Linked DNA regions of Homo sapiens: regions 1, 3 and 4 are each linked to region 2. Evidence: promoter capture Hi-C in 16 types of primary human blood cells and fetal thymus (Javierre and others, 2016). All regions are on one chromosome and are shown on one strand. Each heading gives the region's core, a stretch centred on a gene start or on the middle of the fragment in contact. The rest is flanking DNA. Distances are from core to core; before and after follow the strand shown. Region 1 overlaps TARBP1 (tRNA guanosine 2 -O-methyltransferase TARBP1). Region 2 holds the start of ARID4B (AT-rich interaction domain 4B). Region 3 has its middle 3.0 kb from the start of TARBP1. Region 4 overlaps TARBP1 (tRNA guanosine 2 -O-methyltransferase TARBP1).

Region 1 (2,700 bases), core at 53-2,552, 920 kb after region 2:
TGAAGTGAGCATGCCCTTGGCTCTGCCACAGATAATCAACCCTTGGTATCCATGGGGGATTGATTCCAGGCCCCCTACGGATGCCAAAACCTGAGGATGCTCAAGTCTTTTGTTTAGAATGGCATAGTAGTTGCACATAACTGATGTGTATCCTCCCATATACTTTAATAATCTTAGATTACTTATAATGTCTAGTACAATGTACATGCTATGTAAATCGCTGTTATACAGTTTTAAACTTTGTATTACTTTTTAATTGCATTATGTTTTAAAAATTTTTTGTTAAATATTTTTCATCCACGGTTGGTTGAACTCATAGATGCAGAACTCGTGCATACAGAGGGCACACTGTACTTTATTTTATGTTTTTTTTTGAGACAGGGTCTTGCTCTGTTGCCCATGCTGGAGTGCAGTGGCACGATCTCAGCTAACTGCAAACTCTGCCCTGGGTTCAGGCAATTCTTCTACCTCAGCCTCCCCAGTAGCTGGGACTACAGGTGTGCGCTACCATGCCCAGCGAATTTTTGTATTTTTTGGTAGACATGGTTTCACCATGTTGGCCAAGCTGATCTCAAACCCCTGGCCTGAAATGATCCACCCGCCTCAGCCTCCCAAAGTGTTGGGATTATAGGCGTGAGCCACTGTGCCCCGCTGTACTTAGAGTTGAGTTATTCAGTACTTTATGTGACCTGCTGATTTTTGTGTGCACTGGCATTTGGCTCTAGGAAATATTTCCTTTGCTTTCAGTCCTGTGCCTGTTGCCGCAGCCCCCTTCCCACCCAGACCCCGGGCTGTTCCAGGGAAGAGGCTGCCTCCTGTCCTGGGCCCTCATAGAGTCCAGCACGGCGCTTTCACGTGCATGTTTCACAGTAAGCTTTGAATCAATATTTGTTTATCTGATTATTTTTTCAGGGTGAAGAAAATCTTAAAACAAGCATTTGTACGTTTTTAGCAGTTTTATCACATTTAGACATTATTACTCAAAATATTCCAGAAAAGGTAAGTTTGTTTGTAAGAATTTAAACTTGACTGTAAAAAAAGAATTGTATGTATTTGTACCAATTTTTTATATGTAGAGCATTCCTGTGAATGTTTGCAATTTTTCCCTTTCCTTTCCACTGCCCTGCTAATGTGCACATGTATTAGACACAAATACCCAGTAAATGGGAATTACCCATTTACATGCATACACACTGAGGTGTGCTTGAGTACATACCAAATTTATAGACAAACTACTGGGTAAGTTTTTGTTGATACTTGTATAAAATTAATAATTATTTATAATTCTTAGGATTAGGATTACTTAGGATTCTTTAAACAGGACTTCCCTTACCTTCTTTGACTGAATGGTAGTTATTTAACAAATGCTCGTGCAAAGAAACTTATGGCCAGACTATTAAAAGCTGTTGGGTAATTGAAGGTGATATAAAATGACTGTCATCATTTGGAGTGTGCAGTACAGTTACTTCATGTTCCTCAGGTTTAGAACAATTTCCCCTGTAAGTTCTCACACAGATAGGCAGAAATCATAACTAATTTTGGTTAATCACTATGGCAGCCGTTGAAGAATTTAAGAGAACCTGCCAGTAAGATTTGGAATAAGATTCTATATTATTGCATCCACAGAAAAGAATGTACTGATATACTATAAACTCTAGGAGAAAACTTAATTGAAATAGTGTTATTAAGTGTTGAAAGTACCATAAAAATATAAGGGAAAATAAGCTTTCCTAGAATTTTTCAGTGTTCTAGTTTTTAAACAGTGATGTTTTTTATTAACCTATTTCATCCATTCAAAGACAGGCCTTTCTCCACACCACATTTTCCTCTAAAATCATGATAACACTTTTAAATTGATGGTGTCTTCCAGTGTGTATCAGCCAGATGGCAGTGTGTTACAGTTCCAGGAAAACTCGTTCACATCTTCCGTAAGATCAAGAAGGCTCTGGCATCAGATAAGATCAAATGTTGTCTTTCTGTTTTAAATATGTGCCGCAAAGAGATTTGCTTACAATCTATTGAGAAAGCTAAAACAGAGCAGACATTGTCCTGTTGCGGGGTAGATGAATAGCCTAAGAATAGTTTAGACAAATTCTGAAAACGAATTTACCTTAGAAGATGTTCATGTTAGATCTGGTAAAAGTAACATGTTATTTTTCTGTCAAGCCCTTTTTGTACTTGCCGTTTATTACATATTTTAGATTTATTTTTTATTTTCGAAACATCCAAAAAGGAATGCTAATTAGTGAAATGGAAGAATTTCCATTTCAACACCTTAGGAAAAAAAAAACTGACTTGACATACCTAAGAAAAGGCCAAGTTGATTTACTTTGTCAGTCTCTTCATTTGTGATACGTAAAGTCCGTTGTTACCTAGATAAATGTAGGTTTGATTTCTTGGAAGCAATCACTTAAGACTTTCCATTTTCTTCAAAGCATCTTACTTAACCTGCATGTGGGATCTGTACTGAGCAATTAGAGATTCAAAACAACTGTCACACACGACAGAGGTGGTAACCGCCCAACAGGTTCACCTCTTCCGCCGCCTACACAGAGCCGATTTATCAAGACAGGAATTGCAATAGAGGAAGAGTACACAGAGCTGCTTGTGCAGGAGACTGGAGTCTTATTAGTACTCAAATCGATCTCCCTGAGCATTCGGGGATCAGAGTTTTTAAGGATAATTTGGTGGGAGGGGGAA
Region 2 (2,700 bases), core at 32-2,531:
ATTCTCCTATCACCGTGGAACTCTCCTCTGGGGCACTGCCACTGCGGTAATTTCACATCGTTTTGTTCAGCATCTGTCCGTCTCACCAGGCGCAGGTCTACGAAGGCAGAGGCCACCCCAGTGGTCGGCGCTCAACACCCATGAAGAAATGAAAGCGCCTTCTAACGCGTTAGACGATGAAACCAGGGCACACAACCTTGCGTCTAAGAAGTGAACATCCCATGCAAAAGACTTTTCAAAGGGAAGGGCCTGGTTTGAGAATGGCCAGAGACATACAAATGTGAAGCGCATACTGAATCCTTCCATTCATACTCCGGGAGAAAGACGATGGATCTGAAAGAAGCCGCCTGATATAAACAGGGAATTTCAATCACTTCGAGGCCGATTTTCCACAGCGGCTGGGCAGAGAACTGCAAACGTATACAGTGCTAGCACAGAGTCCGGAGGGGAAGAAACGGTGAGGTTTCTGCTTCCTCCTCGCTCAGATGCTCCCTTCCGCCCCACTTGGCCAACCCTTCCTCTCCCTCCTCGCTTAAAGCTAGGGGATGGAAAATTCATACACAATCCGGTTCAGCATCCGGGTCCTCACTCTCCTTTCTTTCTTTCCTCTGCCCCGCCTCCCAGCCTCCCCCGCCCTTCTTCCCATCCGGGTTCCCCCCAGCCGCCGCCACTGCCGCTCACAGTTCAACGATGATATCACGACTTTCACGCCGCCGGTCCGGGAGTAACTGTACCCCGCATCAACTTCCTATTTTATAATGTGGACTTAGGCTCTTCCCGATGCCTACATGAATCCTTCCCACTATTTCACCACAGAACTCTCCGCCCTCCTCAGCCGCCAGCGACACCGCATTAGTTGGTGCAAGAAAATGCGCCATCCCGGTCACACTGCGCAGGCGTCGTTGCCGCCTCCCTACTGCTTTGTTGCCCCGCCCCTTTCACCTCCCCCCCGCCCCCGCACCGGTCCACGCAGGCGCAGGGCATTGCGGGCCTTGCAGTTCTCGCGGACGAGGATTTGCGCGTTGGCCCCAGAGTATGGACTTTATTTCCCAGAAAGCCTTGAGGCGTAACTTTCTGTTTCCATAGAACTGGTGGGAAAATGGCGTCGTTGTTTGTATCCAGGGACCAATAGGAACAGTGTATAGGCGGGTTCTAAAGAACTTTAACCAATCCAAGGTCGTCTAAGAGGCCATCCGGGAAAGAGGTAGGGGAGGGGGGGAAAAAAAATCTAGGGGAGGGGAGAAAGGGGGGGAACCTAGAGTCGGTGGGGGGGAAGCGATGTTTGCCCGTCAGTCGAGTCCGGAGTGAGGAGCTCGGTCGCCGAAGCGGAGGGAGACTCTTGAGCTTCATCTTGCCGCCGCCACGGCCACCGCCTGGACCTTTGCCCGGAGGGAGCTGCAGAGGGTCCATCGCCGCCGTCCTCTGGAGGGCAGCGCGATTGGGGGCCCGGACCTCCAGTCCGGGGGGGATTTTTCGTCGTCCCCCTCCCCCCAACCAGGGAGCCCGAGCGGCCGCCAAACAAAGGTACCAGTCGCCGCCGCGGGAGGAGGAGGAGCCGGAGCCTCTGCCTCAGCAGCCGCTGGACCCGCCGCCCTTCTTCCCCATCTCTCCCCCGGGCCTGCTGGTTTTGGGGGGGAGAAGGAGAGAGGGGACTCTGGACGTGCCAGGGTCAGATCTCGCCTCCGAGGAAGGTAGGGATATTTTCTGGGGCTTTCGTGGTCTCCTAAGGGGGTTCTTTTGGGAGTCGCTGGGCCCGGCCAAGGAGCAGAGGAAGATCGCGGTGGTGGTCCCTGCGGCGCCCGAATTCGGGGCCTCGGCCTCCCGGGAACCCCCACCCCCCGCAGCCGCTGTGTCCGAGCCGCCCCCTGGCTGGGCGGCCGCACACTCAGCGGTTTAGCGGCCGCGGTCGGGGGCCCGGGCAGGGTGGGGGCCGTTCCGCCTCCGGGGCCCTCGGCCCTCACGTTGTCCCCGCGGCGGGGCCAGATGTTGATCTCGCTCCCACTTGTCGGGTCTGAGCCCGGAACGGGACGTGGGCAGGGGCTCTGTGGCGGGCCGGTCCTGCCCGCGGCCCACAGGCCCTCCTGGCCCCTCGGTGGCCCCCGGCCGGCCTCTCGCTCGGACGCGGCGCGTGGGGGCGCGGATTCGCTCGGCCGGGCGCCGAGGCCCTAGGGGAGAGCGGCCGGCCCTGCGCCGGACGCCGGGCTTGTTGTGAGTTTCTTCTCTGACAGAAATGGCGTCATTGTCGTAGACGGGAAACTCCGTCGGGTCTCGACAATGGGGACGGGAAGCTGCCGAGCTGTGTAGGTGGTTGGGTTTGCGGGGATGGCGGGGCCGGAGGGAGCCCCGAGTCGGCGTGTGATGGTTCGGGGGCTGGCGCCTGGTTGCGGCTCTTTCTTCGGGGTTCGGACGTCGCTCGCTTCTTTCCCTCCGCCTCCGCCAGTGCAGAGGGGCTCCTGTGGTGTTGACTGGGTGTCTTTTGTTTCCCCTCCAGGTGCAGCTGAACCTGGTGTTTTAGAGGATACCTTGGTCCCAGAGTCATCATGAAGGTAAGATTGCCTGCGGAAAACGAATCTCTGGGGTTATCGAATTCAGGAAGTAGGAGGTTTCGACGAGGTCGTCGTGTGGGGCTTCCGAGTTTTGCAGAGGAAGGTGTGTTTGGTGACTTGGTGACCGAGCCCTTCCCCAGAGAGACCGGGGTCA
Region 3 (2,700 bases), core at 75-2,574, 850 kb after region 2:
GGAGGCAGAGGTTGCAGTGAGCTGAGATTGCGCCATTGCACTCTAGCCTGGGTGACAGGGCGAGACTCCATCTACAAAAAAAAAAAAGCTTTACTGAAGTGTGCTATGTCTGAGATGAGGTACTGGCATGAGTATAATAGCAGACAAAACCTCATACCCCATGCCTAGCCCTCAAATTGCTTAGAGAGGAGGAGTAGGGGGCAGAGAAATAACCTGCAATTGCAACACAGTGTGACCATTGCTGTGTTGGTGACATGCCAGGATGTTTGGGGAATTTGAAAGAGGGTCACCTAATTTAACTGGGGTGTTAGCAGCAGGAGAAAGGTATTAAGAAATGACTTTCTGGAGAGATAACATTTGAACTTTGTCTTGAAAGAAAAAAAAAGTCAGGTGGAGAAGGGGTAAGTGCTTTCCAAAAGAGAGAAGGGCTTTTTTTGAAAAAACACAAAGAAAAGTGAGAGCACACATGTTTTAGGGACTTCAAAATTAAGGTGTAAATGGGGCTTGTCAGGAGTGTGAAGATGGAGAATTAGGCAGGCATTCCATCTTGAGGCATCTTGGATGATATGCTAAGAAACTCAACCATGATTCTGAGGGCTCTGGGTAGCCAATGATGTAATTTTAGGAAGATCATCCTAGTACCAATACGGAGTATGTATTACACGACCAGGGGCACTAGGAATGGCTTCTTAGAGAGATGCCTTGAAATTTGGGTCTTCATAAAGGAGTAGGAGATGGCTATTCACTCGATAAGCGTTACTTAAATGTGATATAGCTGGGAGTGGGGTAGGTGGTGATTGCTATTATCTTGGCAAGAAATGAGGAGGGTCTAAAACTAAGTAAGGTATTAGTGGGGCACAGAGAGGAGGGATCACCGAGAGATTTAGAAAGTTGCATGGAAACTTTGAGGAGTGATTGCATGTGAGAATCAAGTAGGAAGTGTATTGGTTCCCAGGTTTTTGACTTGGGCAACTTGGGAATGATGGCCATTTCCCTAAACAGGGAATTCCTGGGAAGAAGAACATCGGTGGGGAGTAATGATGCTGGGTGAAGGGATGAAGGGAATGAAGTTAGATTTGTAAAAGTGGAGACTGAGAATGATGTCCTGAATAATATTCAAATGAAGACGTGTGGTAGGCAGTTGGAGAAATAGGTTTCGAGCTATCTCCTAAGGATAAGTCTCAGGAGAGAGACCTAGGCTGGAGATACAGACTTTTTCATCATTAGCATGTAAATGGTAATCAGATCTATAGTGTTAATGAAGTTATTCAGAGAAAATTTACAGAGTGAGGAGAAGAGAGACCTGAAGATAAAACCCTGGAAATATCACTATGGACAGGTCAGGAGGAAAAATAAGATGCTGAAAGAAAGGGAGAAGAAACAGCTGAGGAAGCAGAGAAAAGAAAGAACAGGACAAAGTCATCGATGAAAACCAGAGTGAGATAGTGTTTCAAGAAATAGGAAATACTCCACAGAGTCCATTCAGGTAAGAACGAAAAAGGGCAGCTCTGGCAATTAGGAATCGCTGCCCACATTGGTGAATCAGAAAAGTGGTGTTGCGGGAAATATTCCGGGAGAGAAGACAGTGCAAACATGTTGTGGGTAAGAAGGAGAGTTCCACATGCCTGACCTGGGGCAGAGAAGGGGGAGTCAGGCTGTGAGGCCAGCTGGCTTTTCCCCAATCCCAATAAGCCTTCAATGCTGTGCTCTGCAGTTAGGCTTTACTCTGAAGGCAACAGAGAATAAAACACATAGGCCAACTTGTTTTTTTGTTTTGTTTTGTTTTGTTTTGTTTTTTGGTATAAGTCATTTTTCAAGATTGAGGTAAACTTTCTTTTTTTTTTTTTTGAGACCAAGTCTCACTCTGTCTCCAGGCTGGAGTGCAGTGGTGTGATCTTGGCTCACTGCAACCTCTGCCTCCTGGGTTCAAGCAATTCTCCTGCCTCAGCCTCCCGAGTAGCTGGGATTACAGGCGTGCACCACCATGCCCAGCTAATTTTTTTGTATTTCAGTAGAGATGGGGTTTCACCATGTTGGCCAGGATGGTCTCAATCTCCTGACCTCATGATCCACCGGCCTCGGCCTCCCAAAGTGCTGGGATTACAGGTGTGAGCCACTGCGCCCGGCTGATTGAGGTAAACTTTCTGCAGAGCGAAATGCATAGATCTTAAGGGTTCAGTTCAAGGAGTCTTGACAAATGTGTAACAACACCCTGATCAACATAAAATATTTTCATCACCCCAGAAAGTTCCCTTGTGCCCAATTCTAGTCAAATCTCTACTCCCTATATGCAACTACTGTTCTCATTTCTATCCTTCAGATTACTTTTGTCTCTTCTTGGATTTCATATAAATGAAATCACGAGGATGTAAACGTTGTGACTGGCTTCCTTTGTTTAACATATTGTTTCTGAGACTTATCCATGTAAAGCGGATTAGCAATTCATTGTCTTATTGCTGGGAGCATTATTATATAGATAGATCACAATTTTTTATTCATTCTTCAATTTGATGCACATGTAGGTTGTTACCTAACACCTACTAGGTTGTTATAAGCTTTTGGCTATAACGAATAATGTTGTCAAAAACATTCTTCTGCAAGCTTTTTTTTTTGAAACATGTTTTCATTTATTTTAGGTAATTACCTGGGGGTGAAATCGCTGAATCATAAAGCAGCTATATTATAACTTTACGAGAAACA
Region 4 (2,700 bases), core at 79-2,578, 860 kb after region 2:
AGCCCAACGGTAGAACTGCCTGTATTATTACCATTGTGAAAAAGTAGTTGTATATTATCGATATTCAGAACAGCGTTAAGTCAAGAATCGTAAGCATAAGTCAAGTTTTCACTATATGAAAACTGGTATAGAAGCTATCAGGTGATGCTGTTGTCACCGTTCTGAGCCACTGATGACTGTTATTTGTTTAGTGATGCTACTGCCTCAATTCTGACTCAATGAATTGCTGTTGTCTACTATATGAAATAGGGATTGCCTTCTAAGCAATATTTATTAGAATCTGTACTTCCATTTGTCAGGAACTACGTGAGGCAGAGACAGTGGGAGTTATAGCTGTGATTTTAAGTTTTATATTATGGTGTCATGTGAGTCCCATGATGACTTCCTTAGGTAGAGTAATCTACCTCTCATTTAGAGGTGACCTAAGTCAATTTTTTTCTTCTTTTTCTTTCAATAGCTGTTTTTTTTTCGAGATGGTGTCTCATGCCTGTCACCCAGGCTGGAGTGCAGTGGCATGATCTCGGCTCAGTGCAACCTCCGCTTCCCAGGTTCAAGTGATCCCCCTGCCTCAGCCTCCTGAGTAGCTGGGATTACAGGTGGGTGCCACCACACCTGGCTAATTTTTGTATTTTTAGTGGAGATGGGGTTCCACCATCTTGGCTGGGCTGGTCTCGAACTCCTGGCCTCAAGTGATCCACCTGCCTTGGCCTCCCAAAGTGCTGGGATTACAGGTGTGAACCACTGTGCCTGGCTTCTTCTTCTTCTTTTTTAAAAGAATGATTGAATATATTTCTCAGATAGTGATATAATTTTTTTGTTTTTGAGACAGAGTCTCACTCTGTTGCCGAGGCTGGAGTGCAGTATCGTGATCTCAGCTCACTGCAACCTCTGCCTCCCAGATTTAAGGGATTCTTATGCCTCAGCCTCCCAAGTAGCTGGGACTACAGGTGCACGCCACCATGCCTGGCTCAGTTTTGTAATTTTAGTAGAGACAGGGTTTTGCCATGTTGGCCAGGCTGGTCTCAAAATCCTGGCCTCAAGGGATCTGCCCACCTCAGCCTCCCAAAGTGCTGGGATTATAGGTGGGAGCCACTGCACCAGCCTAAGTCAGTTTTTTCTAATTATTTTAATATATGCTGTGGTATATTGATATGCATCATGTTTCTACATTCTATTATTTCTGCACTTCATGTAAGCTTGCTTTTCTGACCAGTATCTAATAGTAATTTTTGAGTATAATTTTTTTCCTCTTTATCCTCTAGGCATAGGGGCTTAAATTTTCTCTTGAGTATCTTTTTGGTTTTCCTGTCATTACCTTTATTTTCTAGCATATGTTTCTTCTTTGGCTTCCTTCCTTCTTTCTTGACCCAACACATGAACTCTCTTTTTAGTATGGCATAAATTTTAATCAGGTGGGAAAATTCTGTACTTACTTTGTTTTTCTGGTAGAATTAAGCTTCCCCTCCAGGACCAGCACTAAATTTAGCCTGCAGCGTAAGAGATCAGCTTTGCTTATAGCAGGTCTTCTGTAAGCCTGTGTAGGATGTTCAATCAGGGAAACTGACTTCAAAATTGTATTTACAACTAAGTTTCAATTACGTGTCTTTTTTTTTTTTTTTTTTTAGTTTATTATTGGACCATTAATGGATGCGCTTTCAGAGAGCTCTCTGTATAGCAGGTAAAGAGACATTATGTTATGAAGTATTTGATACATACATTTCATGTTAAGAGACATGACCAGATTGTTTCATGCATTTGGCACATACAGTATGTTGCTGAATAGACAGTTGAGTTTTTCTTATCATGTGGTCCTTTTTCTATCTGTTATTCTTCTTGCATTCTGATTTGCATCAAGTGTTTCTCCTTTGTTTTTTCTTGTTTCCTTTTTCTGCCTTGAGCTGCTCTATTCTTGGGCTGTTGGAAACTATGTCTTCTACAGCACACTTTCTTCTCCCTACTGCTGCTTCCTGCTCTCTTGGAAGTTGTAATGATTTTGACTAACCAACACTTTAAACTTATTTTCCTTTTTCTTTTAACTTAGTTTTACACTTACAGAAAAGTCTTGAGAATAATCCAAAGAATTCTCATTTCCCTTTCACCCATATTCCCTGAATGTTAAGGTTTTACTGCATTTGCTTGATCGTTGCCTCTCCCTGTGTGCGCATCTTTCTTAGCTTTGTCTACTGACCAGACTTACTCATTTATATCTGTTTGAGTGCCTGTCTGTCCGCCATCCATCCATCCATCCATCCATCCATCCATCCGTTCATCCATCCATCCATATTAAGAACCGTGAATTCACACCAGGACGTCCAGTTTTAGTTCAGTACTGCAAGGTTCATTCTAACCTTTTCCTTTCCGTATCTGACAGTGGCTGCTGTTATTCATCCTGTCTCTACTTATAGGCCACAGTTAAAGTTTTGAAAAGGTTGACAGTGAGAAGTTTGTCAGGATTGTACCTTAGCCTCATTTTTTTGAGCATCATTTATGACTCTTGAATTCTGTCTTCAAAAATTTCCCTTGCTCTTGAAATTGTGTTATCTTTCTAATATTAACTAAATTTATAGTTGTGTCTTGCTGTTCAGTATGCCCTCTAAACAGAACTACCTCCCCCCACCAGCCAATTTCTTGAAACATTTTTAATTAGTCTCTGCCACGTTATATTAATATTTAGTCCTGTTTAATAATATTGAAAGAGCA

Evidence for each region. The method cuts DNA at HindIII sites, captures the fragments that hold promoters and counts their contacts. A CHiCAGO score of 5 or more calls a contact.
Region 1: a contact is called between a fragment that was not itself captured here and the fragment with the promoter of ARID4B in region 2, in 1 of 17 cell types (activated CD4 T cells). The highest score is 5.5, in activated CD4 T cells.
Region 3: a fragment that was not itself captured here is called in contact with the fragment with the promoter of ARID4B in region 2 in 5 of 17 cell types (naive CD8 T cells, total CD4 T cells, total CD8 T cells and 2 more); the score reaches 7.7 in naive CD8 T cells.
Region 4: a contact is called between a fragment that was not itself captured here and the fragment with the promoter of ARID4B in region 2, in 2 of 17 cell types (non-activated CD4 T cells and activated CD4 T cells). The highest score is 7.2, in non-activated CD4 T cells.

Annotation. Positions count from the first base shown.
Region 1 is chr1:234,408,744-234,411,443 of GRCh38, reverse strand. TARBP1 (tRNA guanosine 2 -O-methyltransferase TARBP1) reads left to right here. Exons shown (of 30, transcript NM_005646.4): 23 at 913-999. Among named protein-coding and RNA genes, the nearest start is that of COA6-AS1, 37 kb to the right of the region's middle. The HindIII fragment of the contact is 851 bases long and covers 877-1,727 here.
Region 2 is chr1:235,326,760-235,329,459 of GRCh38, reverse strand. It overlaps ARID4B (AT-rich interaction domain 4B), which reads left to right and starts at 1,281. Exons shown (of 24, transcript NM_016374.6): 1 at 1,281-1,691; 2 at 2,492-2,546. The coding sequence starts at 2,541. It overlaps GGPS1 (geranylgeranyl diphosphate synthase 1), which reads right to left and starts at 890. Exons shown (of 4, transcript NM_004837.4): 1 at 682-890. RefSeq lists enhancers at 91-240, 741-830, 1,071-1,130, 1,867-2,392, 2,411-2,600 and silencers at 1,611-1,660, 1,831-2,060, 2,071-2,160. The HindIII fragment of the contact is 9,318 bases long and covers 1-2,700 here.
Region 3 is chr1:234,480,857-234,483,556 of GRCh38, reverse strand. No RefSeq gene overlaps it. Among named protein-coding and RNA genes, the nearest start is that of TARBP1, 3.0 kb to the right of the region's middle. The HindIII fragment of the contact is 2,467 bases long and covers 91-2,557 here.
Region 4 is chr1:234,464,634-234,467,333 of GRCh38, reverse strand. TARBP1 (tRNA guanosine 2 -O-methyltransferase TARBP1) reads left to right here. Exons shown (of 30, transcript NM_005646.4): 5 at 1,626-1,678. Among named protein-coding and RNA genes, the nearest start is that of TARBP1, 13 kb to the left of the region's middle. The HindIII fragment of the contact is 260 bases long and covers 1,199-1,458 here.